2 separate regions of the Homo sapiens genome follow, and region 2 is linked to region 1. Evidence: promoter capture Hi-C in human tissues and cell types (Jung and others, 2019). All regions are on one chromosome and are shown on one strand. The core of a region is centred on a gene start or on the middle of the fragment in contact, and the rest is flanking DNA. Distances in the headings are between cores, read along the strand shown.

What was found. The method cuts DNA at HindIII sites, captures the fragments that hold promoters and counts their contacts. A contact is called where the count stands out against the background at its distance.
Region 2: a contact is called between a fragment that was not itself captured here and the fragment with the promoter of GOLGA2 in region 1, in 1 of the 25 tissues and cell types used here (dorsolateral prefrontal cortex).

Annotation. Positions count from the first base shown.
Region 1 is chr9:128,274,338-128,279,885 of GRCh38, forward strand. It overlaps GOLGA2 (golgin A2), which reads right to left and starts at 1,670. Exons shown (of 27, transcript NM_001366244.2): 1 at 1,556-1,670. The coding sequence starts at 1,639. SWI5 (SWI5 homologous recombination repair protein) reads left to right here and starts at 1,939. Exons shown (of 5, transcript NM_001318089.2): 1 at 1,939-2,065; 2 at 2,370-2,418. The coding sequence starts at 2,004. RefSeq lists enhancers at 1,134-1,183, 2,044-2,173 and a silencer at 1,334-1,443. The HindIII fragment of the contact is 26,420 bases long and covers 1-5,548 here.
Region 2 is chr9:128,891,610-128,897,157 of GRCh38, forward strand. All of the region lies in intron 2 of LRRC8A (leucine rich repeat containing 8 VRAC subunit A), which reads left to right. Among named protein-coding and RNA genes, the nearest start is that of LRRC8A, 12 kb to the left of the region's middle. RefSeq lists an enhancer at 635-1,242. The HindIII fragment of the contact is 8,143 bases long and covers 1-5,548 here.

The sequences.
Region 1 (5,548 bases), core at 420-2,919:
TCCGAGGGGGACTGCGACATCACTACATTCCACTCCACCAAGGAGAATTCAAATATGAGGTGGAGAAGTCAAGCCTGGAGTCCCAGCTACCTGGGAGGCTAAGGCAGGAGGATTACTTAAGGCCAGGAGTTCAAGGTCAGACTGGGCAACACAGTGACACCCCCTCTCTAAAAATAAATATGTATCTTAAAATGTGGGCCGGAACATTAAGTCGGCAGGAACTGTACACTGTGTGGTTTAGAGTCATACATCCTCACACGTTTGGTAATGTTAAGAAATGCACCAATGCCTCTCAAACTTTTACATCAATGTATCCACATGGCAGAAGGCAGCCTTTCTGTTGAACCTGGGAATTTAACAGAAAGAGGACAACCCAAGCCTCATTTCAGAGAAAAGTCTGGTATACTCTTAGAAATTTATGTGACTGTCATCCCTAAGTACATTAATGTTTTTTCTCTCTCAAGAGAATAAAGGGAGACTGATGCTTCAGAAAGATGCCCCGTATTTATCCTGTGGCACTCCAAGTACCCCAGGTTGAGATGATATGAGGAAGATTCAAGCTGTCAAGTTCAGTTTCCCAAGACCTGTTCCACAGAAGATAAGCAGATCTCATTCCAGAGACCACTGAAGGGCACTCTGGTCCCAGAACCATGGAGAATTCGAATATGAGGTGGAGAAGTCAGAAAAAAATGTTAAAGTCTCTCTGGAGAGTAGAAGCCTGGGGGAAAACCAAACCAATCCCGTTCTCACATTGCCACCCAGAGATACTGCCAATGTTTTCAGTTCACGGGTGAAGTGTAGGCTTTTCACACTGTCAATGTCTATGTTAAGGGTGTAAGGCAGCCTGAAACCTCTCCCTCCTAGGTCCCATAGTCCCCAATCCCCTTCCAGCTGGAAATTTATGCTGTGACCAGAGGAACCAGAAGCGGGATGAGAACACTTAGGGGACTGGGTCCTAAGATCAAAGACTGGTCTCGCGCAACTAATTACGGTTCCGAGGGGGATTGTGACGTCACTACATTCCACTCCTAGGGGGAACATCAGCGCGACGTCCAAGTCGCCGCTCCGCGATGGGGGAGGGGACCGCAGGGCCAGGACCCAGGTCCTTGGAGACCCGAGACCAAAGAACCCCGGGAGGTCCGGTTTGGGGCGGCAGGAGGTGAGGGTCGAGTCTGGAGCGGGGGGCCCCGGGAGTCACGGGCCCAAAGTCACTGGCGAGGGCAGGGGCTGAATTGCTGGGGTCCTAGGTCCTTGGAGACGCCAGCCCAAAGAGCCCAGGGAGGTCGGACTTCGGGGGGCAGGAGGTGAGGGCCGAGTCTGGAGCGGGGAGCCCCGGGAGCACCAGCCCAAAGTCACCCGGGGGCGACTGGCGAGGGCGGGGGCTGGGCGGCTGAGGGGGCGGGGCTGGCTGACAAGACTTTGGTGGAGGGAGCCCGGACGCGCCGTGGGGAGCCCAGCCCGGTGTGCCTCAGGAGTGGCAGAGACTCTGGCCATGGTCCTGCCATCGGAGTGGGGCTGGGGCTGGGTCGGGGGGCCGCGACCCGGTGCACTTTACCTTTTTCTTCGCTGCGGCCAATTTGCTCTGTCGGGTTTCTTCCGACATCGCGGGGCGGGGAGGGAGGCGGGGTTGGGGCCACATCAGCGCGATCCCGGCAACCACTGCGGAAGTCAGTCAGCCACCGCGCAGCTGTGCGACGGAGCCAGAGGAGGCGTAACCAGGGCGATACTGGAGCGCAGAATGGGGGCGTGGCCTCAAAGATCAAAGCCCATTGGTCAATGAGAAATATGAAGCGGAAGGGGGCGTGGCTATGCAGCGGCGTGGCCAGAGGGACCTGTGGCGTCACAACAAAAGCTGCGCACGCAACCGCTGTCCCCGCCCACCTCGGGAGAGGGGCGGGGCCGGCTTTCCTTGGGTGCGCGCGCAGCTTTCTGTGCGCCAGTTCACACTCCGGGTCAGAGTTCCTGGCCCGGTGCACCTGAGAGGTCGCTCTCCGACTCCCGCGCTGGACCCTCTTGCGCCATTGAACCCCCTGATCCGGGGGCCTCGGACCCCAGGGCTCAGGAGGTGGGCGAGGAACGGACTCCACAGTTTCTTTCCTGACTCCTCACAGCCCTGCCCCAGACTCTCCCTTCCCAGAAATCACCTCCAAAGACTCCCATCCAGTGCTCCAGACAACCCCCGTCTCAGAACGCCCCCTTCCTAGAGGGTCTCTACCCTGATCCTGAGAGCGTGTCTGCCCCCTTTCCAGATGGATCCAGTCCCTGGCGCTCCTACTTCCCAACTGCTCCTCCTCCCGCATCCCCACAGTACCCCGTCCTCACAGCGGGCTGTGGGTCCAATCAGACTTTCCCCTCGGATTCCTCTCTAGGACTGAACCAAGACTTACCCGAAGTTGCCGCGGGGCCTTCCGATCCCCTGTGAGTATTTCTTCCCCCACACCCCCTTTCCCATCCTCGACCTTCCCTTGTGCGCTCCCGGCCCCACTCCCCATCCCAACAGCAGCCAATCCCCGCTTGGCCCTCTTCCATATCTTCTCCCAGTCGACTGAGAACCGCCAGGTCATTCCCGAATCCCTCCCCTTCCTTTCCTCATGCCCGCCAGTCTTCAAAGAAGTGTTATCCTGTCCTGTCCTAGGCTAACTCCTCTCCCTCCCCATCCTGTCTCCTGGCTCCTCAGATGCCTTTCACTCCAGTCCAGCACCAGCCATCTCTCCTCCTCGCTCTTTTCACCCCTCACCCAGCCCTGCCTTTAAACAAACCCATAGCTCCCCAGTCAGGAAAATGCTTGGCGTTCACCCTGGCCACTCCTTTCGTTGCTAATAGTCTCTCCTCTTCGCTGGCAAGCCACCCCCAAAACGCAGCCTACTCCTTCTCTCATCCCCCAGATGGAGTTGCCACTACAACTACCACCACTCTTAAGGTAGATCGTGAGGGCCGGGTGCAGTGGCTCACACCTGTAATCCCAGCACTTTGGGAGGCTGAGGCGGGCAGATCATTTGAGGTCAGGAGTTCAAGACCAGCCTGCCCAACATGATGAAACCCTGTCTCTACTAAAAATACAAAAAAATCAGCCGAGCGTGGTGGTGCAGGCCTGTAATCCCAACTACTCAGGAGGCTGAGGCAGGAGAATTGCTTGAACCCGGAAGGTGGAGGTTGCAGTAAGCCGAGATTGCACCACTGCACTCCAGCCTGGACAACAGAGCTAGACAAGTCTCAAAAACAAAAAAGAAGTTAGATCGGGAAAGACTTGGTATTTGTTCATTGATTTAGCAACTGCTGCAATGCAGGTGTATGCCAGATAGCCCCCTGCCCTCCAGGAGCCACAGGCAAAAAAATAATTCCAGGACAAGTATGCACATGGTTCTGAGATGGGGAGCCCAGGCTTGGGCTTGCAAAGAGGGCTCTCCAGAGATGGCAGGGTCAGAGGCAGGGCCTGAAGGGCAACTCACAGTGAGCTCAGATGACGATGACGGGGTGGCAGCCATAGTTTGCCAAAAGCACTGGGCTGATTGAGCTTCTCTCTGCAAGTGGGTTGGTATCCACTGTCTTTGACCATGCGGTAACTCACTGCAGATCATGCCTTTCTCATTCATGCTAATTCATTCCTTCTCTTTTTTTTTTTTTTTTTTTTTTGAGACACAGTCGCACTCTGTCGCCCGGGCTGGAGTGCAATGGTGCGATCTGGGCTCACTGTAACCTCTGCCTCCCAGGCCCAACCCATCCTCTTGCCTCAGCGTCCCAAATAGCTGGAACCACAGTTGTGTGCCATGACGCCTGGCTAATTTTTTTGTATTTTCAGTAGAGACAAATTTTCGCCATGTTGCCCAGGCTGGTCTCAAACTCGTGAGCTCAAAGCAACCTGCCCGCCTCGGCCTCCCAAAGTGCTGGGATTACAGGCATGAGCCACCATGCCCAGCTTCCATTCCTTCCATTTTTAAAAACAACGCTCGACCCGGCACAGTGACTCACGCCTATAATCCCAGCACTTTGGGAGGCTAAGGTGAGTGGATCACCTGAGGTCAGGAGTTTGACCAGTCTGCCCAACATGGTGAAGCCCCATCTCTACTAAAAATACAAAAATTAGCTGAGCATAGTGGTACATGCCTGTAATCCCAGCTACTTGGGAGACTGAGGCAGGAGAATCGCTTGAACCCAGGGGGTGGAGGTTGCAGTGAGCCGAGATCACCCTGCACTCCAGCCTGGGCAACAGAGCGAAACTCCATCTCAAAAAAAAAAAAAAGGAGGCTCTATTGAGCATTGTCCCATCAGCTTACTTTACATGCATCATCTTTCCAGTTCCTTCCAGCAACCTTTGAGAAGACGCTTTACTGTCCCCATGTTGAGGTGAGGCCTGTGAGTTCCAGAGAGATGAATATAGCCAGGACGTGGCAGAGCTGGGGGCTTTAAACTGAGAAACTGAGTTGTTTTTGGTTTTTTTTGTTTTTTTTTATTTGAGACGGAATCTTGCTCTGTCGCCCAGGCTGGAATGCAATGACACGATCTTGGCTCACTGCAACCTCTGCCTCCCAGGTTCAAGTGATTCTCCAGCCTCAGCCTCCCTAGTAGCTGGGATTACAGGTGCCCGCCACCATGCCCGGCTAATTTTTATATTTTTAGTAGAGACGGTTTTGCCATGTTGGCCAGGCTGGTCTCAAACTCCTGACCTCAGTGATCCACCCGCCTCAGCCTCCCAAAGTGCTGGGATTACAGGCATGAGCCACCGTGCCTGGGCTTGAACTGAACTCTTAAGCGGTACCTTGGGCTTGCTCCTCTCTGGGCCTATTTGCAGGAGCACCCTCCTGACCTCTCCTGCCTCTTTTTCTGTGCCCGCTCGGCTGGCTCCTTTGCTTCCTGCCACTCCTGAGGTAAATGTGGGCATTTCTGTAGGATCCAGCCCTACGGGGCTTGGTGGGCGTTCTCCCCATGTGCGGAGACAAGAGATTGTAAGAAATAAAGACACAAGACAAAGAGATAAAGAGAAAACCGCTGGGCCCAGGGGACCACTACCACCAAGACGTGGAGACCGGTAGTGGCCCAGAATGGCTGGGCACGCTGATATTTACTGCATACAAAACAAGGGGGGCAGGGTAAGGAAGGTGAGTCGTCCAAGTGATTGATAAGATCAAGCAAGTCACATGATCGTGGGCCAGTGGGCCCTTCCCTTCTAGGTAGCCAAAGCAGAGAGGGAAGGCAGCATACGTCAGCATTTTCTTCTATGCACTTATCAGAAAGATCAAAGACTTTAAGACTTTCACTGTTTCTTCTACCACTATCTACTATGAACTTCAAAGAGAAACCAGGAGTATGGAAGGAACATAAAAGTGGACAAGGAGCGTGACCATTGAAGCACAGCCCCACAGGGAGGGGTTTAGGCCTCCGGATGACTGCGGGCCGGCCTGGATAATATCCAGCCTCCCACAGGAAGCTGGTGGAGCAGAGTGTTTCCTGACTCCTCCAAGGAAAGGAGACTCCCTTTCACGGTCTGCTAGGTAACGGGTGCCTTCCCAGACACTGGCATTACCGCTTGACCAAGGAGCCCTCAAGCGGC
Region 2 (5,548 bases), core at 1,840-4,339, 620 kb after region 1:
AGACCCAACACTGCCTTCTGGCCCTAAACCCAGGGCTAGGCTCCCTTCCAGAGCTTCCTTATAGCAGTACCCGTGAGACCAGAGGCATCTGAGTATGGCCTGATGGGGTTCCCTGTAGAGCCCTGGTTTCCATGTACCCCCTAAGGAAAAGAGTATCTTGTCTCAAGAAGTATCTTCAAGGGCCTGGGTCCCAGGTGGGTCCGGGAGGCCTGCTTGTCTTTGAGGCAGGTTGGCACAATGGAAAGTCGGGCTTGGGGTGCATCTTCCCAGCTCTTCCTAGCTGTGTGGCCTTGGGCAGGTTACCAAACTTCTCTGGGCCTCCGACATCACACCCATAAAAGGACTGATTTAAACTCTACCATAATAATAACAGCAGTGAACGTTCCAGAGCCTTACTGTATGGCAGGCACTAGTCCAAAAGCTTTATATGGACTGTCTCCTTCTGTCCTCATCACAGCCCTCCAAGCAATAGACTTGTCAACCCATTTTACAGATGAGGAAACCAGAGCCCAGCGAGGTGAAGGGACTTTCTCACGGTCTCGTGGTGAGGTGGGTGCCACCTTGCTGCTATGCATGAAGGTTGGGAGATGGGGCAAGGACATACTGGGCACTTAGTTGACGGTCAGTAACTGGGCGCTCCTGCCCCAGCCTGGCAGGGCGAGGGCAGGTCCTGAGGCTGCACCTCCAGCCCCACCTGCTGCCTCTCTCTGCTTGGCTCCGGAGCTGCTGGGGGAAGCCCAGGTGGGTGTCCCTCACCTGTTGCCTTTCACCCTAGAAGGCGGGCCACGCCCTTGCAAGTTGGTGTGAGGATGAACCTGTTTGGGAGCCCAGCCCAGGTGAGAGCAGTTTGGAACTGACCCGTGCTCCCCTCCCCCTCCAGCCCTGGCGTCTCCCCTCTTCCTCTCCCCAGGAAGTGAGGGTGTACCCTTCTACACAGGGCGAGTCCCAAGCCAGGCAACACCCCCAGCCAGCAGCCTCTGACTCACCCCAGCTGGGTGTGGGGGCCTCCAGGGCAGTGTCCGCCCTGGGGAGGGTGGAGGCTGTGTGTGCCAGACGAGGCTGAGACCTCTCCTCCCACTCTGGCTCTGGGACAGGGGAAGCACATGACCCATGGCCCGTGGTGGGAGCAGATCCACAGGCTTGGAACCCTCCCGGGACAGGGCCTGTTGAGAGCGGCCCCTTCGCGCTCCCTGGGAGAGCACTGGAGGGCCAGCCTTCCCATCTCTGGTACAGGAGGGGTGCCAACCTCCCGCCTCCCCTCCTGCTTGGGAAGTTTTCCTGGCTCAGCCTTGTTTGTGCTTTCACAAAAGGCTCTCTGTGCCCTGTTTACCCGCAGCCCGACTGCCTGCCGCCCAGGTGTGGGAGCCACGCCAAATCCCTGTGGGCCCACATGGGGTCTGGTGCGTGCTGGGGGGGTCTCTCTCTGGGACAGAGTGGGCAGCTTGTCATTTCTTGACTCCCTGTCTTCGAGAAGCATCCAGGGGATGTGGACTGGGGCTGAACCTAATGACTGGCTCTGAGAGCAGATGGCCAACTCTGCCACACGGGGTCCTGAGCCTGGGAGGGTCTCTGAGTGGTCTGCGAGTTTTCGAGGTTCTGCGAGTCCTGGGGGGTCCTGTGGGTCTCTGAGTGGTCTGGCCCTGCTCAGAGACATGGTGCTTGAGGCTCCGCCCTCACCCAGGTCAGTCCCCACTGAATTCTGGGAGGGTCATCTGCGATGGCAGGTGGGACCGTGGAACGACAGCCTGAGTGTGCCCGGTGCTGTATTGACACATGATGCCTTACTTTTAATTCTCACGATAACCCATTTCACAGCTATAACCCATTTTAGGATGTAATATTTCCATCTTGCAGTTGAGGACACAGAGGCTCTGAGGCCCCAGTGAGGCAGTAGTGGGGTTGGCGTTTGAGTTGCCCAACTCTGGGGTCTGAACTCCTCCCTGCTCTGCTCCCAGGAGGTGAGGACCGCAAGCTGCTGAGCGTGAGTGTTACGAGGCAGGGCAGGGAGGATGAGGCTGACCTGTTTCTAATGTACGGATGGCAGCTACGCATAAATTCTTTTATCATCCTGAGAAACCACACAGTGAGGAAGGTCTTTTGATTTATTTCCAAGCAGTTTTTCTACTCATAAACATACCAGATTTAAATAATGGAAGAATGTATAATATAGACAGCCCTCTACAGTCTCACCACGAGTAGACTTAACTATATATAGTTCTGTGCATAGCTTTCTAAATTCTTTTCTGTACACAGTAATGAGTTTGTTATTGATATAATTTTATTTTTTGAGACAGAGTCTCACTCTGTCACCCAGGCAGGAGTACAGCAGCACAGATTCGGCCCACTGCAACCTGCGCCTCCCGGGTTCAAGTGATTCTCCTGCCTCAGCCTGCTGAGTAGCTGGGACTACAGTTGTGTGCTACCACGCCCAGCTAATTTTTTTGTATTTTTAGTAGAGACGGGGTTTCGCCATGTTGGCCAGGCTGGTCTCAAACTCCTGACCTCAAGTAATCCACCCACCTCGGCCTCCCAAAGTGCTAGGATTACAGGCGTGAGCCACCGTGCCCAGCCATCATTCTTGTTTTAAAAAATTGCCAGGCATGGTGGCTCACACCTGTAATCCCAGCACTTTGGGAGGCTGAGGCAGGCAGATCACAAGGTCAGTAGATCGAGATCATCCTGGTTAACACGATGAAACCCCGTCTGTACTAAAAATACAAAAAAATTTGCCGGGCATTGTGGTGGGTGCCTATAGTCCCAGCTACTTGGGAGGCTGAGGCAGGAGAATGGCGTGAACCTGGGAGGCAGAGCTTGCAGTGAGCAGAGATCATGCCACTGCACTCCAGCCTGGGCAACAGAGTGAGACTCCATCTCAAAAAAAAAAAAATTATACCAGTAACAGACCAGGTACAGTGGCTGACACCTGTAATCCCAGCACTTTGGGACACCAAGGCAGGTGAATCACTTGAGGTCAGGAGTTTGAGACCACCCTGGCCAACATGGCAAAACCCCATCTCTAGTAAAAATACAAAAATTAGCCAGGAGTGGTGGCACACACCTGTAGTCCCAGCTACTTGGGAGGCTGAGGCAGGAGAATCGCTTGAACCCAGGAGGTAGAGTTTGCAGTGAGCCAAGACCACACCACTGTACTCCAGCCTTGGCAACAGAGTGAGACTCTACCTCAAAAAAAAAAAAAAAAAGATATCATATTTCCTAATTTTTTTCATTGTGGTAAAATACACATGACATAAAATTTACCACCTTAACCATTTGTAAGTGTACACTTCAATGGTATTAAGTACATTCATATTGTGTATCCATCACTACCACCCATCTCCAGAACTGTTTTCATCTTGCAAAACTGAAACTCTCTGCACCCATTAAACGCTCACTCCCCATTTCCTGCTCCCCCAGGCCCTGGTATCCCTTCTGTTTTCTGTCTATTCACTTATGTGAATAAGTGAAATCAAAGTATTTGCCTTTTATGACTGGCTTCTTTCGCAGATAACACATTTTATATACTGCTCAGCAAAATTCTTTTATGCTTAATATCTCTTAGATGTCTCTGGGGTCACTGCATACACATCTACAAGGAAGGTGGCGTTATTCCTGATTTAAAGTTGTAGAAGCTCGGGAGGCTGAGGTAGGAGAATCACTTGAACCCGGGAGGTGGAGGTTGCAGTGAGCCAAGACCGTGCCACTGCACTCCAGCCTGGGCCACGGAGCAAAGCAAGACTGTCTCCAAGATAAAATAAAATAAGTTGTAAAAGCAGAGGCTTAGGCTAAACAATTTGCCTGGGGTCACAGAATTATTTCTTGCTGGAGCTGGATTTGAACCTACATGTCCCAAACTCCAAGTCCTTGCTCTCTCTGCTCCCTGAGATCCACCTGTGCCTGAGGGAAGGCTGGGGCTCTCTGGGTTACTCATTTAACCCCCAGGCACAGAGATGCCCTGGCCCTGGCCAGGAACCTGGTCCCATTTGTCCTAGGCACCTGCTTGAGCTGCCTTGTGGGAAGGGCCTGTTCTGCATGATGCCCACTTCTACATCTCCCTGGGGGCAGGGCAGGACCAGGTAGGGAGTGCTTACGAGTTCTGCAGGGTCCTCAGGGGCTGAGGAGCAGCAGCTGGTAGGAGGAGCTGCCTCTGCTGCTCCGGTAACCTGGTAAGATGCAGTAGCTGCTGCTCCCCGCTGAGCCTTCGCCTGTGGGAGGTTGGGGAGAGCACTGGCTATGCAGGGTAGGAATGCATGAGTGTTTCAGTGAGTTTTGTGTGATGAAATGGTTTAAGAAAAGTATAAAAACTAGAACAGATACATCCATATCAAGAACTCAGCTTTGTCAGACTTCAGTGTTTTGCAGTAATTGTTTCAGATACACACATGCACGCACGCACACACTTGAATGTGCGCAGGCACTTAAGTAAAATATTCCAAGCACAGTTGAAGTCCCTTCCCCATTTTCTTCCCTCCCTAGATACAATCATTATCTTGGTTTGGAGACTTTCCATGCATGCTTTTGTATCTTCGGTATACTTGGGTATACACCTTGTAGAAAACCTTATATAACATATGCATCATCTACAACTTGTTTTTTGGATCAACATTGCTTTTGAGGTTTATCCACATTGATACATGTTGCTACAGTTCATTAACTTTAATTGATTTAAAGCATTTCCATTGTATGATTAGAACAACGTATCCTTTCTCCTGTTGATGAACATGTGGGTCATTTCTGATTTTTTGCTATTACAAACAATTCTTCAGTGAGCATCCTTGTGTGTGGTTTCTCACTTATGTGTGGAGCAGCTTTCTAAGATGCATAAATAATGAGGAGAGGAGTTGCTGGGTTGTAGAGTACGTGCATCCTACCTTCTCTAAGAGTTCACAGTTTTTGCCAATTGGGGGAGTGAAGTGATATGTGATCGTTTTAATTTACATTCCTTGATTACTAGCAAGGCTAAGAATTATTTCATACATTGGTTCCATTTGCATTTTTCCCCTGTGAATTGCCTATGCGTATATTTTGCCATTTCCCCTCATTGGATTGTTTTTGTCTTATTTATGCAGGATTTCTGTATTTATTCTGGATACTAATCTTTTCTTTTTTCTTTCTTTCTTTATTTTTTTCTTTGAGCCAGAGTCTTGCTCTGTCACCCATGCTGGAGTGCAGTGGTACGATGTCTGCTCACCGCAACCTCCGCCCCCTGAGTTCAAGGGATTCTCCTGCCTCAGCCTCCTGAGTAGCTGGGACTACAGGCATGTGCCACCAGGCCCAGCTAATTTTTTTGTATTTTTAGTAGAGATGGGGTTTCAGCATGTTGGCCAGGCTGGTCTCAAACTCCTGACCTCAAATGATCCACCTGCCTCAGCCTCCCTAAGTTCTGGGATTACAGGCGTGAGCAGTTGTGCCCGGCTGTATTCTGGATATTAATCTTTTGGTAGTTTTAAACTTTGGAAATAACTCTTCCTAGTCTGTGGCTTCTTTTCACTTGTTTATTATTATGTCTTTCGATGTATGCTTTAACTTTAATGTGATCAATACGTTACGT